Regions from separate parts of the Homo sapiens genome. Here regions 1 and 2 are each linked to region 3. Evidence: promoter capture Hi-C in 16 types of primary human blood cells and fetal thymus (Javierre and others, 2016). All regions are on one chromosome and are shown on one strand. Each heading gives the region's core, a stretch centred on a gene start or on the middle of the fragment in contact. The rest is flanking DNA. Distances are from core to core; before and after follow the strand shown.

Region 1 (4,198 bases), core at 103-2,602, 620 kb after region 3:
AGAGAGGAGGGCCTCTGTGCAGGAACAGTGAGGAGACCTGTTGTGAGAGGCAAGCTTGTCCTGTCACCAGGGCCTGTACAAAGATTAACGCTTTGGCCTGCATACTGGCACAGGAACTGCTGGCACTCAGGCAGTAAACTTTGCAAGGAAATGATTATGAAATAAACGAGTACCCATGGACATTGCAGTAAAGTGTATGGAGAGGATTATTATAATTTTTCAAAGAGTTTAGAATCTCTGGTTTTAAAAACTGGTGCAACACAGCAAAACAAATATCCAAAGGCTTAGAAATAGAAATTAAAATTAAAGATTGTCACAAAAGACACATTAAATGAAAAGTTTCAGATAAAATATCAATGAAGAAGACAATATAAAAGTTTCTTCCCTGTAATTGAAGAGACAGGCCAGGCGCAATGGCTTATACTTATACTCCCAACACTTTGGGAGGCCGAGACGGGGAATTGCTTGAGCCCAGGAGTTTGAGACCAGTCTGGACAACAAAGTGAGACCCTATCTCTACTAAAAATTAAAAAACAAAAAATTTGCTGGGTGTAGTGGTTCGTGCCTGAAGTCCCAGCTACTCAGGAGGCTGAGGTGGGAGGATTGCTTGAGCTTTTGAGGTCAAGACTGCAGTGAACCATGATCTCCCATTGCACTCCTGGCTGGGCAACTGAGTGAGATGCTGTCTCAAAACAAAACAAAACAAAATAAAACGACAACAAAAAAAGACCAGCCTGGGCAACAAAGTGAGACCTCGTCTCTATAAAAAATAAAAATATTAACATATTAGCCAGGCATGGTGGTGCGCACCTGTAGTCCCACCTACTGACGAGGCTGAATCGGGAGGATTCCTTGAGCCCAGGAGGTCAAGGCTGCAGTGAGCTGTGATCCCACTACTGCATTCTAGACTGGACAACAAAGTGAGACCCTGTCTTAAAAAAAAAAAAAAATGAATGTGGCCGGGCACAGTGGCTCACGCGTGTAATCCCAGCACTTTGGGAGGCCGAGGTGGGCGGATCATGAGGTCAGGAGTTCGAGACCAGCCTGGCCAACATGGTGAAACCCCATTTCTACTAAAAACACAAAAAAAATTAGCTGGGTGTGGTGGTGGGTGCCTGTAATCCCAGCTACTCGGGAGGCTGAGGAAGGAGAATCACTTGAAACCAGAAGGCGGAGGTTGCAGTGAGCCGAGATGACGCCACTGCACTCCAGCCTGGGCAACAAGAGTGAAACTCTGTCTCAAAAAAAAAAAAAAAAAAAATGAAGTTGCGGCCGGTGGCTCATGCCTGTAATCCCAGCACTTTGGGAGGCGGAGGCAGGTGGATCACCTGAGGTTGGGAGTTCGAGACCAGCCTGACCAAAATGGTGAAACCCCCATCTCTACTAAAAATACAAAAATTAGCTGGGCGTGGTGGCACATGCCTGTAATTCCAGCTACTTGGGAGGCTGAGGCAGGAGAATCACTTGATCCTGGGAGCGGGAGGATGTGGTGAGCTGAGATCACGCCATTGCACTCCAGCCTGGGCAACAAGAGTGAAACTCTGTCTCAAAAAAAAAAAAAAAATGAAGTTGCTAAAAATGTTGATGACCAAATAATTGAATTTGCAGAAAAGGGAGTCAGAAAAATCTTATGATCATGATATATTAATAACACTATTTTTGCCGGGCACAGTGGCTGTCACCTGTATTCCCAGCACTTTGGGAGGCCGAGGTAGGTGGATCACTTGAGGTCAAGAGTTTCAGACCGACTTGGCCAACATGGTGAAACCCCGTCTCTACTAAAAATACAAAAATTAGTAGGCTGTGGTGGTGCACACCTGTAATCCCTGCTACTAGGGAGGCTGAGGCAGGAGAATCACTTGAACCTGGGAGGCAGAGGTTGCAGTTAGCCAAGATCGTGCCACTGCACTCCAGCCTGGGCAACAGAGTGAGATTCCGTCTCAAAAGAAAAAAAAATCATGTAAAATTATAACAAAAATATTTTTCTGTAATTTGTCATTATTCATGCATTACTATTACACTTACTATGTTTTATAAGTAAAAACATTTTTTTTAAGGAAACAAAATTTTTTTTTGATACAGAGTCATGCTGTGTCACCCAGGCTGGACTGGAGTGCAGTGGCGTGATCTCTGCTCATTGCAGTCTCTGCCTCACAGGTTCTAGCGATTCTCCTGCCTCAGCCGCCCAAGTAGCTGGGATTACAGACAGGCGCACACCACCACATCTGGCTTTTTTTGTTTTTAATTTTTAGTAGAGACGGGGTTTTACCATGTTGGCCAGGCTTGTCTCCAACTTCTGGCCTCAAGTGATCTGCCCACCTTGGCTTCCCAAAGTGCTGGGATTATAGGCGTGAGCCACCAAGCCCGGCCTAGGAAAAAAACTTTTTTTTTAAATTTTATTATTATTATACTTTAAGTTTTAGGGTACATGTGCACAACGTGCAGGTTTGTTACATATGTATACCTGTGCCATGTTGGTGTGCTGCACCCATTAACTCGTCATTTAGCATTAGGTATATCTTCTAATGCTATCCCTCCCCCCTCCCCCCACCCCACAACAGTCCCCGGTGTGTGATGTTCCCCTTCCTGTGTCCATGTGTTCTAATTGTTCAATTCCCACCTATGAGTGAAGCCCACTTGATCATGGTAGATAAGCTTTTTGATGTGCTGCTGGATTCGGTTTGCCAGTATTTTATTGAGGATTTTTGCATCAATGTTCATCAAGGATATTGGTCTAAAATTCGCTTTTCTGCTGTGTCTCTGCCAGGCTTTGGTATCAGGATGATGCTGGCCTCATAAAATGAGTTAGGGAGGATTCCCTCTTTTTCTATTGATTGGAATAGTTTCAGAAGGAATGGTACCAGCTCCTCCTTGTACCTCTGGTAGAATTCGGCTGTGAATCCATCTGGTCCTGGACTTTTTTTGGTTAGTAAGCTATTAATTATTGCCTCAATTTCAGAGCCTGTTATTGGTCTAGTCATATGCGGGATATAATCTCCTGGTGTGCCATTTTTTAAGCCCGTTGGAAAAGTGCAGTATTAGGGTGGAAGTGACCTGATTTTCCAGGTGCCGTCTGTCACCCCTTTCTTTGACTAGGAAAGGGAATTCCCTGACCCCTTGCGCTTCCCAGGTGAGGCGATGCCTTGCCCTGCTTCGGCTCATGCACGGTGTGCTGCACCCACTGTCCTGCACCCACTGTCCAGCACTCCCCAGTGAGATGAACCTGGTACCTCAGTTGGAAATGCAGAAATCACCCGTCTTCTGCGTTGCTCATGCTGGGAGCTGTAGACTGGAGCTGTTCCTATTCGGCCATCTTGGCTCCACAGGAAAAAACCTTTTTAGGTTGGGATCTTTAATTACACTTCCCCTCCTTTTTTCTTTTTTTTTTTTTCTTTTGAGATGGAGTCTCGCTTTGTCGCCCAGGCTGGAGTGCAGTGGTGCAATCTCGGCTCACTGCAACCTCTGCCTCCCAGGTTCAAGCAATTCTCCTGCCTCAGCCTCCTGTGTAGCTGGGACTACAGCTGCCGGCCACCATGCACGGCTAATTTTTGTATTTTTAGTAGAGATGGGGTTTCACTATGTTGGTCAGGCTGGTCTCAAACTCCCAACCTCAGGTGATCCATCCACCTCAGCCTCCCAAAGTGCTGGGATTATAGGCGTGAGCCACTGCACCCGGCTTTCTCCTCTGCTTTTTGAACGTGAGGCTCTCCATTCCATTTTCACGTTGTGCTGGGCTTCACCAATTATGTAGCTGACTCCCATGCCTACTTGGTGGTAATTGTGAGGTGAACTGGGATTGAAGCCACTCAAACAGCCTCACTGCTCAAACCAAAATCCTCTCCACTGGGAGTGGGGGTCCGGGTGGGTAGTGGCAGGATAGTAACACAGAAATATGGAGGTTGGTGTGGGTATTTATCATTTTCACATGAACAGGATCATACTGTTCAATCAAATTAGGCGGCCAACTGCTTTCTTCAGTTGACAATAAGTCTTGGAGATCTTTCTACCAAAAAAACAAAAAAAAAATCAACTTTATTTTTTGTTTTGAGATGGAGTCTCACTCTGTCGCCAGGCTGGAGTGCAGTGGCGTGATCTCGGCTCACTGCAACCTCCACGTCCCGAGTTCAAGCGATTCTCCTGCCTCAGCTTCCTGAGTAGGTGGGACTGCAGGCTCGAGCCACCATGCCCAGCTAATTTT
Region 2 (4,171 bases), core at 212-2,711, 600 kb after region 3:
AAAAACAGAAGTCTTAAATAAGATCCAGGATCTCGTGACATAATGCCCCAAATGTCCAGAATATAATTAAAATAATTATTTGTCATACCAAGAACAAGGAAAATCACAACTCGAATAAGAAAAGAAAATCAACAGATGTTAAGACTGAGATGACACAGATGTTGGAATTATTTAAGAATTTTAAAGGCGCCATCATAAAAATGTTTCAATGAGCAATTAAGAACATGCCTGAAACAAATGAATAAATTGAAAGTGTCGCCGGGCACAGTGGCTCATGCCTGTAATCCCAGCACTTTGGGAGGCTGAGGTGGGCAGATCACGAGGTCAGGAGTTCGAGACCAGCCTGGCCAACACGGTGAAACCCCATTTCTACTAAAAATACAAAAGATAGCTGGGCGTGGTGGCATGTGCCTGTAATCCCAGCTACTCGGGAGGCTGAGGCAGGAGAATCACTTGAACCCAGGGAGGCAGAGGTTGCAGTGAGCCGAGATCGCACCATTGCACTCCAGCCTGGGCAACAGAGTGAAACTCCATCTCAGAAAAAAATCATCATCATCATAATAAAATAAATAAATACATAGAAAGTGTCAGCAAAAATTAGCCAGGCATGGTGGTATGTGCCTTTAATCCCAGCTACTTGGGAGGCTGAGGCAGGAGAATCACTTGAACCCAGGAGGTGGAGGTTGAAGTGACCCAAGATTGCACCACTGCACTCCAGTCTAGGCCACAGAGCTAGACTCTTGTCTCAAATAAAAAAAAAAAGAAAGTGTCAACAAAAAATAGAAAATCTCTTCAAACAAATAGAAGATATAGAAAAGAATCTAACAGAATTTTTAGAACTGAAAAATACAGTAACAATGAAAATTCTTTAGTAACTTAAATGAAAATTCAACAGCAGAATGGAGAAAACAGAGAAAAGAATCAGTAAGTTGAAGATAGAACAATAGAAATTATCCAATCTGAACAACAGAAAGAAAACAGATTGGAAAAAAAATGAACAGAGCCTCAGCAACCTACAGGACTACAACAAAAGACAAACCGGAACAAATCCACACTAAGACATGGCTTAATCAAATTCCTAAAAGCAAAAGACAAAGGAAAAATCCTGAAAGCAATGAGAGATAAATGACACATTACCTCAAGGAGAACACCAATTTGAATGACAGAGGCTCTCTCATCAGAAACCATGGAGGGCAAAAGGAAGTAGCAGAACAGTTTTCAAGCGCTGAGATAAAAGAACTAGAAACCCAGAGTTCGATATGAAGTGAAAAGATCCCCTAAGAATTCAAGGGAAATCAAGATATTCTCAGATTAAGGAAAACTAAACGTATCTGTTGCCAACACTTATCCTAAAAGAATGAGTAGGCTGGGCACAGTAGCTCATGCCTGTAATCCCAGCACTTTGGGAGGCCGAGACGTGTGGATCATTTGAGGTCAGGAGTTCAAGACCAGCCTGGCCAAGATGGTGAAACCCCGTTTCTACTAAAAATACAAAAAATTAGCTGGGCGTGGTGGCGGGCGCCTGTAATTCCAGCTACTCTGGAGGCTGAGGCAGAGAATTGTTTAAACCTGGAGGGGCGGAGGTTGCAGTGAGCCGAGATCACGCCACTGCACTCCAGCCTGGGCGACAGAGCGAGACTTCGTCTCAAAAAAAAAAAAAAAAAAAAAAAAAATCAGCCAGGCATAGTGGTGCATGCCTGTAGTCCCAGCTACTGGGGGGTGGGGGGCTGAGGTGGGAGGATCACTTGAGCCCAGGAGGTTTAGGCTGCAGGTGAGCCGTGACTGTTCCACTACACTCCAGCCTGGGCAACACAGCAAGACTCTGTCTCAACAACAACAAAACGATTAATTAGATTATAAACAAAAGAGCATTAAGGCATATAAAGAAAAGTAAAGTTTCAACCGGACATGGTGGCTCACGCTTGTAATCCCAGCACTTTGGGAGGCTGAGGCGGGCAGATCATGAGGTCAGGAGTTCGAGACCAACCTGGTCAACATAGTGAAAACTCGTCTCTACTAAAAATACAAAAATTAGCCGGCTATGGTGGACCACACCTGTAGTCCCAGCTACTCGGGAGGCTAAGGTGGGAGAATCGCTTGAACCCAGGAGGCAGAGGTTGCAGTGAGCCGAGACCACATCATTGCACTCCAGCCTGGGTGACAGAGTGAGACTCTGTCTCAAAAAAAAAAAGGAAAAAGAAAAGTAAAGTTTCTACTCTTCAATCAAACTGGTAAAATGTCAAGAGCAGTTGCTTATGGTAAGTTATATGTATAATGTAATACCTAGAGCAAGTACTGAAAAAAGCAATACAGAGATAACTCGGGCCAAGAGCAGTAGTTCATGCCTGTAATCCCAGCACTTTGGGAGGCTGAGGTGGGAGGATCATCTGAAGCCAGAAGTCCAAGACCATCCCAGGCAACAAAGGGAGGTACCACCAACCTACACCCACACCCTCCCCACACAAAAAATTTTAAAAATTAGGGCACACAGTGGCACATGCTTGCAGTTTCAGCTATTGTAGAGGCTGAAGCATGAGGAGATTGCTTAAGCCCTGGAATTTGAGGCTGCAGTAAACCATGATCAAACCACTGCACTCCAGCCCAGGTGACATAGAGACCCTGTCTCAAAAATAAATGAATGAATGAATGAGTAGGCCGAGTGCAGTGGCTCACACCTGTAATCCCAGCACTTTGGGAGGCCGAGGCAGGCGGATCACCTGAAGTCAGAAGTTCAAGACCAGCCTGACGAACATGGAGAAACCCCGTCTCTACTAAAAATACAAAATTAGCTGGGCGTGGTGGCACATGCCTGTAGTCCCAGCTATTCAGGAGGCTGAGGCAGAAGAATCGCTTGAACCTGGGAGCCGGAGGTTGCGGTGAGCCAAATCGCGCTCCAGCCTGGGCAACAAGAGCGAAACTCCATCTCAAAAAAAAAAAAAAAAAAGAAAAGAAAAAAGAAAAAATCAGCAAGGATTAGAAGAATTCAGCAACACCATTAACCAACAGTAGTTAATTGACATTTATAGAACACTCTACCCAAAAATGGCAGAATACACATTCTTTTCGAGTGATCATGAAACATTTACCAAGATAGACTCTGGGCTATAAAACAAATCTCAATAAATGTAAAGGAATTGAAATCATACAAAGTATATTCTCTGACCACTATCAAACTAGAAGTCAGTAACAGAACGATAACAGGAAACTCTACAAAAACTTCAAAATTAAACAACATACTTCTATACTTCATGGGTCAAACAGGAAGTTTCAAGGGGAATTTAAAAATGCCTTGAGGCAGCAGGAGGATCACTTTAGCCCAGGAGCTGGAGGCTGCAGTGAGAGCTATGATCCTGCCTCTGCAGTACCGCCTGGGCAACAGACTGAGACACTGTCTCAAAAAAAAAAAAAAAAAAAAAAAAAAAAACTTTTTTTTTTTTTAATGCCTTGAACTACATGAAAAGGGAAAATGTAACATATTAAAATCTATTGGTGCTGAGAAGAAACTTAACAGCTAAAGGCTTACATTAGAAAAGAAAGAAAGGCCGGGTGCTGTGGGTCACGCCTGTAATCCCAACACTTTGGGAGGCCGAGGCGGGTGGATCACCTGAGGTCAGGAGTTCGAGACTAGCCTGGCCAACATGGTGAAACCCCATCTCTATTAAAAATACAAAAAATTAGCTGGGCGTGGTGGCGAGCGCCTATAATCCCAGCTAGTAGGGAGGCTGAGGCAGGAAAATCACTTGAACCCGGGAGGTGGAGGTTGCAGCGAGCCGAGATCGCGCCATTGCACTCCAGCCTGGGCAACAGGCTGTTTCAGAAAAAATAAAAAAAAAAAAAAAAAGAAAAGAAAGTCTCAAATCAATAATCTAATCTCCCACCTCAAGAAACTAGATAGAGAGCAAAATAAACCAAAGGAGGAAAAAAATAGTAAAGGCAGAGATCTATTAAATTGAAAACAGAAAGACAACAGAAAAAGTCAATGAAACAAAAAGCTTGTTCTTTGAAAAGATCCATAAAACTGACAAACCTCTAGCAAGTCTGACAAATACGAAGACAAATTTTTTTTGTTTGTTTGTTTTCGGTTTTTTTGAGACAGGGTCTCGCTCTGTCACCCAGGCTGGAGTGTAGTGGCATGATCACAGTTCACTGAGGCCTCAACTTCCTGGGCTCA
Region 3 (4,067 bases), core at 187-2,686:
TCTTGATAAATTCACATGCTCCTGAAGATTCTTAATTGCTGTGGATCAGAGCACTAATGCAACCCTGTTGTGAGGCTGGGTGCAGTGGCTCACACCTGTAATCCCAGCACTTTGGGAGGCCGAGGCGGGCGGATCACGTGAGATCAGGAGTTCAAGACCAGCCCGGCCAACATGGTGAAACCCCATCTCTTCTAAAAATACAAAAAAAAAAATTAGCTGGGCGTGGTGGCAGGTGCCTGTAATCCCAGCTACTTGGGAGGTTGAGGCAGGAAAATCGCTTGAACCCAGAAGATGGAGGTTGCAAGGAGCTGAGATTGTGCCACTGCACTCCAGCCTGGGCAACAGAGCGAGACTCCATCTCAAAAATAAAAATAAAAAATAACCCTCTTGTGAGAATTATTGATAGGAAGATAAACTAGCTTTTTTGTATCCTTACCTGCTAAGATGATTTCATCAAGTTTCACTTTCTGTAGTTTGTTTCATGAAAACAAGTTTTTTGACTTTGTAAATATAAAATTACAAGGCACAAAATGCATTTTCAAACCATACATAACTCCTCCAGGAGATTGTTACGTCCAATCCCCATCCTCATTGTTGTGAATCCCAGCTTTAGAGAATCCTTATCACAGGTGGTCCCACAGTGCTTGAAGGCTCAGGCCAAAAGAGACAAGGAGATGGGTCTACCGCCCCCATAGAGGAGACCCTTATGGGAGGGACCCCCACAGGTTCCCAGGCCGGTGTTGGTGACCTCATGCACACCCTGGGAGAGGAGAGGTGACCCCACTTACGTCGGCTGGGGCGAAAACGCAGTTGTTTCCTAACTTCTTGGCTTGGGCCTCCCCACCCGAGTTGGGCAGGTCCAGAAGCACAGCAGAGGCTCCCTGCCCCACAAGTCGCTCCGCCGTGGCCAGGCCCAGGCCCGAGGCTCCTCCGGTTATTACCGCCACCAGGCCCTGTCAAAAGGGACATGGTCAGGGTCAGCTGTTACATTGCCCAGACCATCCCCACGCTGTCGCCTGCCTGTTCTCCAGGCTTCTGAGGAGAAGGGGGGAGGGGAGAGGTCGTGGTCACCCCTGCGGGTAAACTAGGTGTGCTGCTTCTCCTCAGCGTTGGGACCTCGGGGGCAGAAGGGATCTCATCCCCAGACAGCCCGTCCCGTGACGATAGATAGATAGATGATTGATAGATAGATAGATAGACAGACAGACAGACAGACAGATGCGCCGCGGAGTGCTGACTTTCACCTCTTGAGCCCAACGGCCACAATACCAGGCCTACATAAGCATGACCCTTTCCCTCGAAACCGATCTCTTTCTCCTAGTTCCACGGCCGCGCTGTCCCGGCCCGTAAAGGAAGGCAAGCAACAGAGGCAAAGAACCTTCTACCTTCACGCTCCGACACGCTGCTGCCATCTTGTCGCCGGCCACTCCACGGGATGGGGATGGGGGCGCGGGCGCTCGTTGATTGGCCGAGGCGAAGCGGCGGAAGGGGCGGATGCGACGGGCCGGGGCGTCTGCCGCTGCCGCATGAGACGTGGGGGCGTGGCCTGGTACGCTAGTCCTTTGGCCAGAGGGCGGATTCCGCCTGCTAAGGTATCCCCAGAGTTATTTCAACTGGGGAAAGAGACCAATAGCAGAAGTACAATACCACAACACCCCTCGCCCTACTCTCTAGCTGGCCTTTTGGCAAGTGGCCTGCTCCGCGTGGGGGAAGAGGGGTGGATATTGAGAACGGATGCCTTTCTCCTCTGAAAAAGTCTTAATTCAAGTATGAATGTATTTGAGACTCCTATATGCTAGACGGTGTGCGGGGCACCTGGGATACCCAGCGGAATAATAAAAGATTCATGCCTTCCAGGAGGGCACAGTCCAGGTGGAGAAAGAGAATTACAGTACAGACACAGACGAATGGACGGAACCAGATTCTGGGACACTCAGACAAGGAGATCCAAAGATGAGGAGTCTGAGTTAGAGAGAGAGAGAGCCATGTAAAGAGAAATATGTTGAGGCCGAGATAGGAAGAGAGATGCCAGGTAGGATCACAGAGAGATGAATGTGGAAAGCCGCTAAGAGAGATGCTTGGAGACAGACATTCTAGGACAGCTGCTGAGAAGCACAAACCTAAAGAGGCAAAAACATCTTTCATCAGTTCAGGCTTTGCTACTCTCCTCTATCTTTGTCTAATTTAAGTCCAAAAGCCCAGATCACACACTGCAGATTGGACTTCAACCAGAGACTATTATTTAAGACCCAGGTCTTTGTCATCCTAGAACATCTTTCAGGCAGCTTCCAGAAGCTATGTCATTAGAGTCTTGAGCCCAGATATCTAATCTGTCTTCCTTCTATACTTTTCCTCAAACCAAGGTCTTCAGGCCATAAATCTTAGCCCACCATTTCAGCCTCAGAACTGCTTTATGTTTTCTCTATCTGAAATATCTCCCCCCACTTGCTTTCTCACCCAGGAAGATTCCCCTCCAGGCCTTCTAGTTGTTGACAGCCACCACACTCATAATCACTACACCGTATTTACCAAAGGATTTAGCACACCGGTCTCACAATTTTCCTATCTACATGAAGTGCTTCCATCAATTTATAGCACTCTTCATCCGGCCCAATATGCTGTAGCCACAGTGGCCTCCTTTGTGTTCATCTTTGCATTAGCTGCTCCCTCTGCTTGGAATGCTCTCCCCTGATCTTTGCATGACTGCTTTTATTTTTTTTCATTCAGAACTAAGCTTAAATATCACCTTCCCAGAGGGGTCCTCCCTAAATATTCAAACTGTAGCCACCTAGACACTATCCCATTGCATATTTGAATTATCTTCATAGCACTTGCATGTCCGTAATCCATTTTCCAACCTTAGGGCCAGATGTGCTGTGGAATTCAGAGTTTTTTTCAATTTGAGAAAGGAAGACATGTAATTTATATTACATAACTCTTTAAAAAAACTAGTCAAACATAACTTTTTGTATAGTCTATATTATATAACTATTGAGAAAAGCCTGGAGCATCGTAATGAAATATTAATATTTCTGAAGTGAAAGGTATGAAAATTCACACCAAGTGTGAATAAAGACTATAAATAGCCTCACACTACTTCAGGTCAGGTTTTGTCATCTATTGAGTTTGGGCTCCAAAGTATGAAAAAACAACCTTATGCTTTTCAGAAGTTTTGGCATTGCAGGATTGTGCCTACAGGCTTGTGAGCCTGCATGCTCCGCTAACCTGGCCTTGTTTGTGTAGTTCTCCCCCTGCTGGAAGGTAAGCCCCATGGCACCAGGGGCTTGTCCAGCTGGTTCACCTAATGCCGAGAACACTGCTTGGCGTGTACAAGACACTTAAAACAAATGTGTGAAATAAATGAATTAATGAATTAATCTTGGAAGAATTTCCAGGCACAGTTTCATGATTCTTTCACCTGCCCAACTCCGGGAACCTTCACCTCCTCTCTACTTTAACCACCTGTCCAGGCCACCTTATTGCACTTGTCATTCCCTGGAATAACCTCCTGCCCTCCCCAGCATCTACACACCATCTTTTCTCTCTCTGACCATGTTCTCGAGTTGTCTTGGATCTCTTCCCCTCTACCGCTTTTTTTTTTTTTTTTGAGATGGAGTCTCCCGCTGCCCAGGCTGGAGTGCAGTGGCGCATCTTGGCTCACTGCAACCTCCGCTTCCTGGGTGCAAGCAATTCTCCTGCCTCAGCTTCCAGAGTAGCTGAAATTACAGGCATGGGCCACCACGCCTGGCTAATTTTTGTATTTTTAGTAGAGATGGGATTTTACCATGTTGGCCAGTCTGGTGTTGAACTCCTGACCTCAGGTGATCCGCCCTGCCTCAGCCTCCCAAAGTGTTGGGATTACAGGCATGAGCCATCGCGCCCAGCCTCAGCTCTATTATTTACTAGCCGAATGACCCTGGACAAGTTACTTAACTGATGTGCCTCAGTTTCCTCTTCTGTAAAATGAGTATAAACAAATGACTATTCGTAGGGTTGTTAGGAATAAATGAGTTAACAACTATGTATTTAAAAAGGACTTGGAACAGTGCTTGGCCTTTAGCAAGAGC

Evidence for each region. Contacts are between HindIII fragments. The CHiCAGO score rates a contact against its expected background, and 5 or more counts as called.
Region 1: a fragment that was not itself captured here is called in contact with the fragment with the promoter of HSD17B10 in region 3 in 1 of 17 cell types (neutrophils); the score reaches 6.1 in neutrophils.
Region 2: a fragment that was not itself captured here is called in contact with the fragment with the promoter of HSD17B10 in region 3 in 3 of 17 cell types (neutrophils, total B cells and activated CD4 T cells); the score reaches 10.0 in neutrophils.

Annotation. Positions count from the first base shown.
Region 1 is chrX:54,049,923-54,054,120 of GRCh38, forward strand. No RefSeq gene overlaps it. Among named protein-coding and RNA genes, the nearest start is that of PHF8, 7.5 kb to the left of the region's middle. The HindIII fragment of the contact is 2,601 bases long and covers 53-2,653 here.
Region 2 is chrX:54,033,177-54,037,347 of GRCh38, forward strand. The region is part of intron 2 of PHF8 (PHD finger protein 8); the gene reads right to left. Among named protein-coding and RNA genes, the nearest start is that of PHF8, 9.2 kb to the right of the region's middle. The HindIII fragment of the contact is 5,057 bases long and covers 1-3,990 here.
Region 3 is chrX:53,432,934-53,437,000 of GRCh38, forward strand. HSD17B10 (hydroxysteroid 17-beta dehydrogenase 10) reads right to left here and starts at 1,437. Exons shown (of 6, transcript NM_004493.3): 1 at 1,386-1,437; 2 at 789-953. The coding sequence starts at 1,412. The HindIII fragment of the contact is 11,572 bases long and covers 1-2,732 here.